Linked DNA regions of Homo sapiens: region 2 is linked to region 1. The links are contacts of gene promoters, found by promoter capture Hi-C in human tissues and cell types (Jung and others, 2019). All regions are on one chromosome and are shown on one strand. The core of a region is centred on a gene start or on the middle of the fragment in contact, and the rest is flanking DNA. Distances in the headings are between cores, read along the strand shown. Region 1 holds the start of ADAM2 (ADAM metallopeptidase domain 2). Region 2 has its middle 36 kb from the start of ADAM2.

Region 1 (6,743 bases), core at 3,210-5,709:
TATTTTCCTAATGCAGAGACTATCACTATAATTTTTCAAACTAAAACATAGAAAGAAAATAATTTAAAAAGCAGAGGAGAATTTCAGATCCTGGGAAACTATAAAATGACCTAATCTAATATAACCAGACTCACAATATGAGGAGAAGAGAAAATAAGATAGGGAAATATATAAAGAGAAAATATTTGAGAGTTTTAAAAATGGATAAAAGATATAAATTCACAAACCCAGAAAACACTTCACATTCTGAGATAACCAATATAAAGGAATTGCACATCTAGGCATATCACAATCAAACTGTTGATAACTAAAGATAAAGAGAAATTATTTAAAACAAGCCCAGAAAAAATTTGGGGGGGAACAACATGAAGAGTGATGTTAGAAGTAACAGAAGGCAAAATCTAGTTCTCATTAGAAGCAACGGAAGGCAAAATCACTGGGATGAAATGCTTAAGATACCAGGAAAAAAATACCTGTTAATGTAGAATGTTATAGCCATCAGGAATGCACTTCAGAAATGAAGACAATATTAAAAACAATTTTTATAAGCTAAGAGCAGAGAGAATTTCTCTGTGTAAATATAAGACCTGTAAAAATTGATACTGAAATTAAGTAAATAAAATAGCAACGTAACATTTTGTGATAGAGATGTAGATACAGTAATAAATCCCATACAATGAAATATTCAACACTAAAAGGAAATGGGCTATCAAGTCATGAAAAAAAGTGAAAGAACCTTAAATTTCTTTTCTTTTTTGTTTTTTTGAAATGTAGTCTCATTCTGTTGCCCAGGCTGGAGTGTTGGCATGATCTTGGCTCACTGCAACCTCTGCCTCCCAGGTTCAAGTGATTCTCCTGCCTCAGCCTCCCAAGTAGCTGGGATTTCAGGTGCCCACCACCACTCCTGGCTAATTTTTGTATTTTTAGTAGAGATGGGGTTTCACCATTTTGACCAGGCTAGTCTCAAACTCCTGACCTCAGGTGATCCTCCCACCTCAGCCTCCCAAAGTGCTGGGATTACAGGTGTGAGCCACTGCACCTGGCCAGGAACCTTAAATTTCTAAGTGAAAGGAGCCAAAATGAAAAGGCTATACTACTGGTGATTCCATTATTACATTCTGAAAGAGGCTAAATTATGGAAACAGTAAAAAAAATCAGTGCTCAGAGAGAAGAGAGGGATGCATAATTGGAGCACAGCAAGAAAACAATTTTGATTGGCACTATAATGATAGATGCACATCATTACACTTGTCAAAACTCATAGAATGCACAACACAAAGAGTCACCCCTAATGTAAGCTATGGATTTGGTTGTTAAGGATGTATCCATGTGTACAATGTTCACGGATTTTAACAAATGTACCTTACTGATATAGGATGTTGACAGTGGGAGATGCTGTGCATGTGGGGTTAAGGATATGTGACCTTAACCCCAGTTTTCCACTGGGTATTTTTCTGAACCTAGAACAGCCCTAAAAAAGCCTATTAATTATACATATATGTATATATGTAAAATATGTGGCTATAAAAATTAAATTAAATTAAATTGAATTATCTTATTGCAATATTCTTACTTTGTTTATTATGGGTATGTGGAATGCAATATGTTGAAGATATATAATATAATCTCTAAACATTAAAAACCCCCAAAAGAACAAATAGTATATTCAAAAATTAACGAGACCAGGTGAAATTAAATTTAAAGCAGCTTCCATTATCCAAAAGAGGTAAGAAAGTAAAAATAAAAGACCAGACAACTAGTAGGAAAACAATAGAAAACTGCTAGCAGGTGAGAGACATAAACTTAACATGTCTGTAATTACTGTAAGGAAATGGACCTAATACTTCAATTAAAGTCAGGTTCATCATACTGAATTTAAAAATCTGTATGTTATTTATACACAAACACACACACACAAACTTTAAGGATATGCCTTTAAAGTGAAATATTTTTTTAAAATATCCCAAGCAGATTCTAATTATTTTTTTAAAAATCTGGCTATGGAAGTGATAGATAAAATAAGCTTAATGGCAAAAAGCCAGTATGGGCAAAGAGTGACATTATAATGACATAAGTTCACTTCATCAGGAAGACAAAACCTCCCTAAATGAGTTTTAAAAAAATAACTTATCTTCAAAATATGATAATTAAAAATTGATAAAACACAAAGGAAAAATAGAAAAGTATTCTTAGTTGGACATAATAAAAGAACAAGAATTAATAAGGATATAAAATATTTGAAAATGTATTATCCAACTTGATCTAGTTGACATTTAAAGAATAATATAATCCACAGCTAAATAGTCTGCATTCTTTTAAAGTTTGCATTCTTTTAAAGTTCGAAACATTCAATGTAATGAACCATATAATGGGCAATGAATTTTCTCTTAGTGAATTGCAATGACTTGAAATTATTCAAAATACAATCTATGATCACAATGGAATTGAGTTAGACATCAATAAAAAAGTAATTAATACATGCTTAAATATGTGGCATTTAAATAACACCAATAAACATGTGGGGCAAAAAGAAATCATGATGAAAATTAGAAAACATTTAGAATTGAATATTAATGAAAGTAAAGTATATCAAAATAAAGTATAAGAATACAATGGTGAAGTTAAAGCAATGAATAGATAGAAATTTGGAAATACATGGAAATTTGTAGTTTAAAGGCATAGGTTAAAAGAAGAAATGTTTAAAATAAATAATATAAACTTCCAATCTTAGAAGCTAGAAAAGGAACATTATGCCCAAAGTAGAAAAAAGGAAAAGAACCCAAGAACAAAATCAACAAAGCAGAAAACATACAACAGAAAAAAATAAAGAAATCCAAAACCGAGTTCCTGTAAAACTTAATAAAAATTATACATTCCAAGACCTATTTACCCAGTATAAAGAGAAACATCACAAATTATCAACATTGAGAATGGAAGAAGAGATATGTCTGCAGGTGCTATAGACCTTAAAAAGTTGCTAGAGGAGAGGAAGTCATTATGAACAACTTTTGTCAATAATTTAACAACCCCAAAGAAATGGACAAATTCCTTCAGAAACATAACTTTCTCAAACCAACACGAAAAGAAAAAAATATGAATATTTTAAAGAAATTAGATAAAAAAGTAAATAAATCTTCTCATGAAGAAAACTCCAGGTCATAATCACTCCATTTCTAAATGCTAAGAAACATTAAAAGAATAAATATTCACAGCATTACACTATTTCAAAGATTAAACGAAGAGATAACATTTCTTAATTTCTTTTATGAGGGCAGCATGTCTTGATATAAAAGTTGGTAAGTTCATTACAATGAAGGAACATTACAGACAACACAACAACACAACAAGGCATTGATGTGTACGAAGTGGAATTTTCATATACTTCTGGTGAGAGTATAAATTAGTACAGTCTTGGAAAACTTGTCGGAAGTATCTACCAACACATACCCTGTGATCCGACAACTTCACTCTAGAAATATACACAGTAGAAATCCTTACTTATTACACCAAAAGGCATGTAGAAGAATGTTTATAGCTAAATATTATTTTTAATAGCTGGAACAATAAACAAACAAAATATTCATTAACAGTAAAATGGAAACACAAGTGGTGTTATATTTAATGAATTTGTAATATACACCAATGAGGATAAAACAGAACTATTGCTTTGTATGAACCTTACAATCATCCTATTAAAAGAACCCAGACATGAAAGAGTAGATGGTGATTGCTTCTACTTGCGAAAAGTTCAAAAACAGACAAAACGAATCTTTGGTTGTTTAGAAGTCATGGTTGTGAGGTTGGAATCTGGGGATTTGGGTGGTTCTTTTTCATTTCTTCATCGTGGTACTAGTTACGCTGTTTTTTTTTTCCACTTGAATATTAATTGACCTGTGAACTTATGATTTATTATATACTTTTTTTCGTTTTTTGTTTCGTTCTTTTTTTTTTTTTTTTTTTTTTTTTTGACGGAATTTCGCTCTCTCACCCAGGCTGGAGTGCAGTGGTAAGGTCTTTCTGCTCACTGCAACCTCTGCCTCCTAGGTTCAAGCGATTCTCCTGCCTCAGCTTCCCGAGTAGCTGGGATTTCAGGCACCCGCCACCATGCCTGGCTAATTTTTTTTTGTATTTTTAGTACAGACGGGGTTTCACCATGTTGCGGAAACTGGTCTCGAACTCCTGATACGTGTTTATATATATTCAATTGAAATTTTACTTAAGAAGTGTTTATAAATCTTCCTGTTCCTCAGCTGTTGGAAGTGATTTTGTTGTTGCTGTTGCCTTAATTAGGCATCACGTCCAGTGGAGTGCTTGTCCTGCAAGAGACAGGGCTCAGGAGCTCGCACGTTCCACAGCGCACCACACCCAACCTCAGCCCACCTGGGCTCTCCCAGCCGCCTACCTCTTCCAGGCTGCGTGGCCGGGGCGTCATCTCGCGCTTCCAACTGCCCTGTAACCACCAACTGCCATTATTCCGGCTGGGACCCAGGACTTCAAGCCATGTGGCGCGTCTTGTTTCTGCTCAGCGGGCTCGGCGGGCTGCGGATGGACAGTAGTAAGCAGAAAAACCCCTCCTCTGGCCTTTTGGGACCCTCAGCGCTACTCTCCCTTTGCCTCCAAGTTACATTGACATCCCTGGGAGGATGCTTTCCTGAGGGGTTTCCAACTCAGCAATTCCAAGCTCATCCCCGACATTGCCGCCTTCCCCACCCAAAATCCACGTAGAATAAGGGCTTTCCCACACGTCCTGGAAACCTAGGAAAGATAAGATAGGAGGTCCTAGGCCTTAAGAGGTTGCTTCAAAATTGTAGTTTCAGATCCTGCTTTGCATTTTTCACGACAGTGAAAGTTGAGACCCAACTTCTGTACTCTCTAGTTGAAGAGTCCAGAGTGAGTTAATTTGTCCTGAGGGGCTTGAACCTATTGACCCAAGGTTACCAGATCCTACCTACAGGGCAATACTCCTAAAGCAATACACCTACTTCTTTTTTAAAAAAATATGGCCGGGCACGGTGGCTCATGCCTGTAATCCCAGCACTTTGGGAGGCTGAGGAAGGCGTATCACGAGGTCAGGAGATCGAGACCATCCCGGCCAACATGGTGAAATCCCCCTCTACTAAAAATATAGAAAATTAGCTGGGGGTGGTAGTGCGTGCCTGTAGTCCCAGCTGCTGGGGAGGCTGAGGCAGGGGAATCGCTTGAAACCGGGAGGCGGAGGTTGCAGTGAGCAGAGATCTCACCACTGCACTCCAGCCTGGGCCTGGGCGACAGAGTGAGACTTCGTCTCAAAAACAAAAAAAAAAACAGAAAAACAGAAAAAAAAACCTCCTTGTATTTTTAGAAAGAAATGGGAAGATAATAAAAATGAGAAGCAGCGTATAGAATAGAGATTAGAGATTTAGATGAAAAACTCATAAAACACGCTCTGAAATGATGGGCATTGTTCTAATAAAACATTTTGCACATTTTGCAGATTTTGATAGTTTACCTGTGCAAATTACAGTTCCGGAGAAAATACGGTCAATAATAAAGGAAGGAATTGAATCGCAGGTAATGAATCACTAACAGTATTTACAAATTTAAAATGATGTAAAGATTTTGTTTCTAAGAAGTTAATCTGCCATTTTTCATTCATGCACACCTGTTGAATTTTATATTTATACCAAATTTTCCCTGAATGGAAAAGCCCTTTTGAAAATGAACCAGGATCAACAATGTTTCACAGAAATAATGGTGCAGTGATGCTGGTTATCAAAGCCCCAAGTCCATTTTCTGAATCTGTCTTCCTCTTGGATGTCTTTGAATAATCATTGGCTTGATTGTTCTAGAGATTCTGTTCTCACTCACCGTTCAGGCTGTATTTGGAGGAATTTTTTGTCATTGTTGCTAAGTAAGCCTTGGCTTGCTTATATGGGATGATGATCACTTGAATTAATGATGTGTTATATTAATGATTTTTTTAGCCCTGATTGCGAATATGTTAATGATTAGAACTCTTTCTTTCATGCTATTTTAGATTATTTTAGTTCAGAATTATTACTCTCTTTTTAAAATTTGAATTTAAAATCTTCTTATCATTTTCACTAAGTTCTAGAATCCATTTCTGAAGTGGAATGTGGTTTCTTGAGACATCAATTTTTTTTTTTTGGTTTGGTAGCAGATGTTCTGGTAATTTAAATGCAAACATTTCCTTAGCATATATCCATTTGTCATCCTAATACAGACATTATAGCTTAAGATGTTATTTAAATCATTTTTAAAGGAATGCATATCTATATATCTATTACTAAAACAAATCATTTAAATAGAAAAAAGCAGTGAGGCTTTTAACAATATTTTATGAAACATTTTTAATGTAAAATTATTATGGAGATGTTAATAATAGTAGAAAATAAGCAGAGAATCTATTTGGAGAGAAGTATTTCAAACAAGAATAACTTGATTGTTATAAGATAGTTATTTGCAATAAGTAAAAAAAAATGCCCATTTTCAACTGTCAAATTCATGAGGAAAAAATTGTCTATTTTGTTAATGTCTGTATTCTTCTTGCCTAGAACAGTGTCAGATACAAATGCTATGTGTATTTATGCTTTTGTGCACTAATCAGGCTCATTATTTTCTCATTTGTAAATGAGAAACTTGGAATAGCTGGTCATCAAAAAGTTCCTTTTTGATTTTGTGGTTACCAAAACCAAAACAAAGCACCACCACCAACAAAAAAATAGTGCAAGGGATAATTGTTG
Region 2 (7,521 bases), core at 1,635-4,134, 37 kb before region 1:
TTCAGACTTCTAAATATGCAATCATTAGCCAACTTCTCCATCTCTGATAGGGCCAAGAATACCCTAACAAGATGTGCAATCCAACTTTTATGTTCTTACATTTCCAACCTCACCTATTACACAAGCAATGAAAAGCCCATACACGGCCCTGTTACCATGAATACGATCTTAACTTTCCAAGCCCCTTTATGCATCCAACACAACCTGTTATCAGGTCTGCCCCTGGGGCACCTACTACCCCATCTGTGTAATTACACTCTACAACTTCAAGCCCCAACTGATCATAGTAACTTCTGAGTCACCCAAAGAGCTCCATTCAGATGGCTTGTCTACTTCTCAGGGCCCGCAAAAATCATCACCTCCTCCCTGCTTAACGAACAGTCCAGGTTTTATAATGGCAAACTTACTCCCAGCCTGAACATTCACCCCTGGACCCCTTGCAGCAGGGCCCCCACCACTAATGAATGCCTTCTCATCCCCTCTTTCAATCACTCTCTCTAATGGTTCCTAGTAGATACAAAATGGTTTTTTCTCCAATGGGAAAATAGAACACAGGGAGCCACTCAGTTTACTCCCAACACTCTTTTCCAGCTGCTCAGCAGAGCTACCTTGGCAAGTACTCTAGGAGTATGGGAAAATGAAAACAACAAAGTCACACACCTTTTTAACATACACAACCAGTTCTGTCTACCCAGCCAAGGTATATTCTTATGTGGAATGTTGACCTATATCTGCCTCTCCACTAACTGGACAGGCACCTGCACCTTAGTCTTTCTAAGTCCCAACATTAACATTGCCCCAGGAAATCAGACCCTATCGGTACCCCTCAAAGCTCAAGTCCATCAGTGCAGAGCCATACAACTAATACCTCTACTTATAGGGTTGGGAATGGCTACTGCTACAGGAACCAGAATAGCCGATTTATCTACTTCATTATCCTACTACCACACACTCTCAAAGGATTTCTCAGACAGTTTGCAAGAAATAACGAAATCTATCCTTACTCTACAATCCCAAATAGACTCTTTGGCAGCAGTGACTCTCCAAATCACCAAGACCTAGACCTCCTCACTGCTGAGAAAGGAGGACTCTGCACCTTCTTAGGGGAAGAGTGTTGTTTTTACACTAACCAGTCAGGGATAGTATGAGATGCTGCCCAACATTTACAGGAAAATGCTTCTGAAATCAGACAACACCTTTCAAATTCTTATACCAACTTCTGAGGTTGGTAACATGGCTTCTCCCCTTCCTAGGTCCCATGGCAGCCATCTTGCTATTACTCACCTTCAGGCCCTGTATTTTTAGCCTCTTTGTCAAATTTGTTTCCTCTAGGATCAAGGCCATCAAGCTACAGATGGTCTCACAAATGGAATGCCAAATGAGCTCAACTAACATCTTCCACCAAGGACTCTTGGACTGACCCACTGACCCTTTCACTGGCCTAAAGAGTTCCCCTCTGGAGGACACTATAACTGCAGGGCCCCTTCTTTGCCCCTATCCAGCAGGAAGTAGCTAGACTGGTCATCCCCCAATTCCCAACAGCAGTTAGGATGTCCTGTTTAGAGGGGGGATTGAGAGGTGAAGTCGGCTGGGCTTCTGGATTGGGTGGGGACTTGGATAACTTTTTTGTCTAGCTACAGGATTGTAAACACACAAATCAGTGCTCTGTGTCTAGCTAAAGGTTTATAAATGCACCAAACAGCACTCTGTAAAAACACACCAATCAGTGCTCTGTGTCTAGCTAAAGGTTTGTAAATGCACCAATCAGCACTCTGTAAAAATGGACCAATCAGCACTCTGTAAAATGGACCAATCAGTGTTCCATAAAATGGACCAATCAGCAGGATATGGGTGGGGCCAAACAATGGAATAAAAGCTGGCCACCCAAGCCGGCAGTGGCAACCCTCTCAGGTCCCCTTCCATCCTGTGGAAGCTTTGTTCTTTCACTCTTCACCATAAATCTTGCTGCTGCTCACTCTTTGGGTCCACACTACCTTTATGAGCTGTAACACTCACTGCGAAGGTCTGTGGCTTCACTCCTGAAGTCAGCGAGACCACAAACCCACCAGGAGGAACAAACAACTCCAGACATGCCACCTTTAAGAGCTGTAACACTCACTGAGAAGATCTGTGGCTTCAAACCCACTGGGAGGAACAAACAACTCTGGACGCACCACAGTTAAGAGCTGTAACATGCCGAGACCAGCTGGGTCAGGGAGACCCTAACCCAGTGGCACTAGAGGAATTAAAGACACACACAGAAATATAGAGATGTGGAGTGGGAAATCAGGGGTCTCACAGCCTTCAGAGCTGAGAGCCTTGAACAGAGATTTACCCACGTATTTATTGACAGCAAGCCAGTGATAAGCATTGTTTCTATAGATTGGAATATAGATGAACTAAAAGTATTCCTTATGGGAAACAAAAGGATGGCCGAAATAAAGGGATGGCTTTGGCTAGTTATCTGCAGCAGGAGCATGTCCTTAAGGCACAGATCACTCATGCTATTGCTTGTAGTTTAACAATGCCTTTAAGTGGTTTTCTGCCCTGGGTGGGCCAGGTGTTCCTTGCCCTCATTCTGGTAAACCCGCAACCTTCCAGCGTGGGCATTATGGCCATCATGAACATGTCACAGTGCTGCAGAGATTTTGTTTATGGCCAGTTTTAGGGCCAGTTAATGGCCAGATTTTGGGGGGGGGGGCGGTCCTGTTCCCAACATGTCCCCCTTATTTGATTTGCAAAGTGATAAAAGCAAAGGCAGCTTTGTCACAGTGAGCTACTTCTTGCAGGAGTCAGGATCTGCATCTGCAGACTATACAAAGACAAACAACACAGATTAAAGGTACAATCATTATTGGAATCACAGAGCTTCCCAGTGTTTTTATCCATTTTAATCAGTTACTAGCTGCTAATCAGTCTGCAGCTCCTTCAAGCACTCCAGTTCCTGGCATTAAGGTCAGGTGTGCCTGGGATGTTTTAAATATTTGTTCTTTAATTTTGCAATATCCAAAGACAAGTTTGTAGAGTGTCCTTCTAAATGCTTTTTTATTCTTTCCCAAATTTTGATCTTATTAAGAGCTATTAATGGTTTCCACAAATCCTTACATTAAGCTCCTAGAGCAGGCCATATCATTTGAGGTTGAGGTGTCACTATACAGCCATGGTTCCAGATAATAGAATTCTTGCCATACTTCTTTCCATTTCTACCATCTGACCATTTTGTTCAGACCAGCTGAACATAGTGTGGCCATGGCACACAGACTGAGTGGTGCAATTTAAGCTAAACATCCCCTTAGGGGACCGATCAATAATGATTCCATAGGAATCGTTGCACAGCACCTCTGCCTGTTCTGCAATGCAATCTTCCTAAACAAGAACATTCATTATTTCTGGCCAGGTTCTATTTTGTTTACAAATAGGTTTTTGAGGGCAGTATGCCTCAATTATAGGAGCAGATTTATTATGGTAAATACTGAGACCAGAAAGCATGTGTAACTGTGTCACGGAGTGATTACATTCAGGCATTATTGCCAGCCAAGATTGATAAATATGCCCAATAAGTATAACTGTTCTCTGTGTCAGCCCTTGTTGAAGGAATACTCATGGCAATGGTGATCACCGGTGTCATAGCTACCATTAAATTACTCATTGTGACTGTTTGCCCCACTTTCCTCAGGTTTTCTTCTGCCATCTGTGACAGTTTCTTGATCTGTCCCCAGGTGGGAGGCTGTGTTCGATGGGTGTTGCACATGACAGTTGGGGTCCTCCTCAGCATCAGCCTCGACATGGCTGCAACCAAGAGGTCCTTGGGATGCTCCTGGAATCTCTTCCTCAGCATCTGGCTCATGATAAGTTTTCAGATGTCTTGATGGTATCCAAATTGGCTGTTGATTTTGGCCTGGAGAAACACAAGCATAACCTCTACCCTAAGTTATTATTTTATCTATTTCCCAACTTTTTGTTATCAGATCTGTCCACCAAACCAATTGTTTTGCTTCTGTCTTTGCAGCTGGTTTCTGTAGATGCTGTTAAGCTGCTGATAACATCTGGCCTTTGGGCAGGCTCAAAAAATTTAAAGTTAATAATGCTAGATTCAATTGTGTGTGAACTGCCCCTTAATCCCTGTTTCTCCCCCTTTTTTGTTTTTGTCATCAGTTGATTATCTGTATGAAATCGTAACAGCATTTTCAATTAACTGTGTGGAATGAGCCATGTATGAAGACTCAGAAATCACTTTAATAGGCATATTGAAAGCAATCAATATCTCAATTACAGCTACAAGCTCCGCTTTTTGAGCTGCAGTATAGGGCATCTGGAAAACTTTAGTTTTTGAGCCAGAATAAGAAGCTTTACCTTTACTAGACCCATCTGTGGAACATGAAAACTCTTAGCAGGCTGCAGGTTATTTACCGCAGGAATTGTAAACGCAAACCTTTCACAGTCTTGCTCAGCTAAGGGGATAGTAAAGAAACAGTCTTTAAATCTATGACTATTAAAGGCCAATTTTAAGTCCTCTAAAGCCTTCAGTTTCTCTTTACTCTGTGGTCATTCTTCTATCCAAATTGGCTTTTCTGTTAACCATTTTAAAGATATAGGTTCTGGAGACTTAACAATGGCATCATCAAAAATGATATCCTAAACCTTGGCAGGAACTTTGTCTTTCCCCTTGAAGTGGTTCCTTTAAACCTTGCAAATTTTTTCCTAGTCCCATACCACAGACATATCCCATTTCATGCATCATATGTTGACTTTGAGGGCTGTATAATTGTTCTGGAATTAGAACTTGTGCTCCCCATTGTTGTAACAAATCTCTCCCCCATAAATTTATAGGTACAGAAGTTATAATTGGTTGAATAGTCCCAGGTTGTCCATCGGGCCCTTCACAGTGCAAAATATAACTACTTTGATATATTTCAGGGGCTTTGCCAACTCCAACTGTGTTAAATTGAGTGGGTTGAATTGGCCACATGGATGGCCACTACTGTACAGAAATGATTGAAATGTCCTCCTGTATCTACCAAACCTTTAAATTTCTTTCCTTGAATAGTTATTTCACAGGTAGGATGTTTATCAGTAATTTGATTCACCCAACAAGCTGCTTTACCTTGTGTATTTGTGCTTACAAATCCTCCTGTTCATTTTTTTGTTTGTTTGTTTGTTTTTGAGATGGAGTCTTGCTCTGTCACCCAGGCTGCAGTGCAGTGGGGCAATCTCCACTGACTGCAAGCTCCGCCTCCCAGGTTCACACCATTCTACTACCTCAGCCTCCTCAGTAGCTGAGATAACAGGCACCTGCCACCACGCTCAGCTAATTTTTTTTGTATTTTTTAGTAGAGACGGGGTTTCACTGTGTTAGCCAGGATGGTGTTGATCTCCTGACCCTGTTATCTGCCCACCTTGGCCTCCCAAAGTGCTGGGATTACAGGCATGAGACACCGAGCCTGGCTCCTCCTGTTCATTTCATTTCACTTTTCCCCATTTCCACATACGGCACAATCAGGAGCTGTGCTGTACGCTCTCCTGGCTTTGCTTTCCAGAGAACAGAAGTAGATATAACAATTTCAATTTCCCCCATTGTAGTCTGAATCAATGACTCCTGTATGTATTTTTACCCCTTTTAAATTTAAATTAGACCTGCCGAGAAGTAATCCTAACGTCCCTGCTGGCAAGGGTCCACAGACTCCTGTTGGAACCTTCTGCGGGGGTTCCCAGGCAGAAGGCTCACATCTTTTGTGCAGCATAAATCTACTGCAGCACTACCAGCTGTGGTGGGGGACAGATATTGTACAGGGGTGAGGGAATGGCCTGAGCTGGAAATGCCCTGGTTTGGAAAGGGGCCCAGGATGGGCCCCTTATGACATTTCCTGAAATCGGGTTCCCATCTTTATCAAACTTAGAGTGACACTGATTAGCCCAATGTTTTCCTTTTTTACATTTTGGACATATTTCAGACTCAGCAGTTTTCTTTTTTTCCATATCTGGCAGCCTGACTCACTGATTTTTTCTACATTCTTTTTTAGTATGACCATGCTTCCCAAAGTTAAAACAAGCTCCAGGAAACAGAGTATTTCCTTTATCCACTCTCAGTCCTGCCATTTCCTGTGCCAACAAAGTAGCTTTATGCAGATTACCTCTGATACCATCACAGGCCTTGATATAATGAACTAAATGTTCTTTCCCTTTAATAGGTCACAGAGTAGCCTGGCAATCAGGATTAGCATTGTCAAAAGCTAATAACCGAAACACTATATCCTGTGCAGCCGAATCTGTAATTACCTTTTTAAGAGACTCCTGTAACCAAGCTATAAAATCCACATACGGTTCTTTCAGTCCCTGTTTTACAGCACTAAAGGAAGGGTATTGTTCTGCACCTGAAGTGACTTTTTTTCCCAAGCTCTAATGCACACTCCTCTAAGCTGTTCTATGGCATCATCCTGCATGACCACTTGTACATCTAAAACTGCCCAGCTGTCAACACCCAAAAGCTGGTCTGCAGTTATATTAATTTGAAGTTGGGCCTGGGTGTTGCGAGCAGCCTGAATGGAAGCTTCATCTGCCCACCAAGTTTTAAATTGTAAAAACTGAGCAGGAGTTAGACAAGCTCAAGTAAGAGGATCCCAGTCAGTAGGAATCATCCAACTGGAAAAAGCAACATTCTTTAACAGTCCCATTACAAAAGGAGACCCTGGTCCATACTGACTAATAGCTTGTTTAAATTCTGTGAGTAATTTAAAAGAAAAAGGCTCAAATGTAGCTATAATATTTCCCTGTTGATCTAGGGGATGTACTCTAACAGGGAACTGCCAAGCCTCTGTATCACCATCTCATCTAGCTTGCTGAATTCCTGCCTGAATAGAACTGAGAGTAGTCACTGGAGGTGCTGCTCTAACAGTCACTGGGGCAACTACTTTTTGCCCAGTGTCCTCCAGAAAAGAAAGATCTGGAGGGTCAGGCCACTCTTTTTCTTCAAAATAATAATGAGGGGATGCAGAAGGGTAGGGATGAACCTCTCCCTCCTTTGCTGCTTTTGTTTTAGCTGGCAAACAAACCTGCTCTCTAACCTCTTCTGCTCCTTCATTATACTCTCCTTCCTCCTCATCATTAGTGTGAAAAGGTTCTAAAGTGGAACGAACCAGAGCCCACACTTGTCCCATTGTTACCCTGATGCTTCTGAGCTCCCCTTCTTACTCACCATGGGGATTGCTTTAAGAGTACTCGGGTGTCCTCCAGCTTAGGTCCACATTCTCCAACTGTTGCTCTGGTGACCCTTTGACCTGGATTCGAGCCCCCACGATGGACACCACTTGCTGAGACCAGCTTGGTCAGGGTGACCCTAACCCAGCGACACTAAAGGAATCAAAGACACACACACAGAAATATAGAGGTGTGGAGTGGGAAATCAGGGGTCTCACAGCCTTCAGAGCTGAGACCCTTGAACAGAGATTTACCCACATATTTATTGACAGCAAGCCAGTGATAAGCATTGTTTCTATAGATTATAGATTAACAAAAAGTATTCCT

Evidence for each region. Contacts are between HindIII fragments. The study calls those that stand out against the background at their distance.
Region 2: a fragment that was not itself captured here is called in contact with the fragment with the promoter of ADAM2 in region 1 in 2 of the 25 tissues and cell types used here (aorta and small bowel).

What each region holds. Positions count from the first base shown.
Region 1 is chr8:39,835,943-39,842,685 of GRCh38, reverse strand. ADAM2 (ADAM metallopeptidase domain 2) reads left to right here and starts at 4,459. Exons shown (of 21, transcript NM_001464.5): 1 at 4,459-4,555; 2 at 5,474-5,550. The coding sequence starts at 4,501. The HindIII fragment of the contact is 9,732 bases long and covers 1-6,743 here.
Region 2 is chr8:39,870,680-39,878,200 of GRCh38, reverse strand. No RefSeq gene overlaps it. Among named protein-coding and RNA genes, the nearest start is that of ADAM2, 36 kb to the right of the region's middle. The HindIII fragment of the contact is 5,127 bases long and covers 321-5,447 here.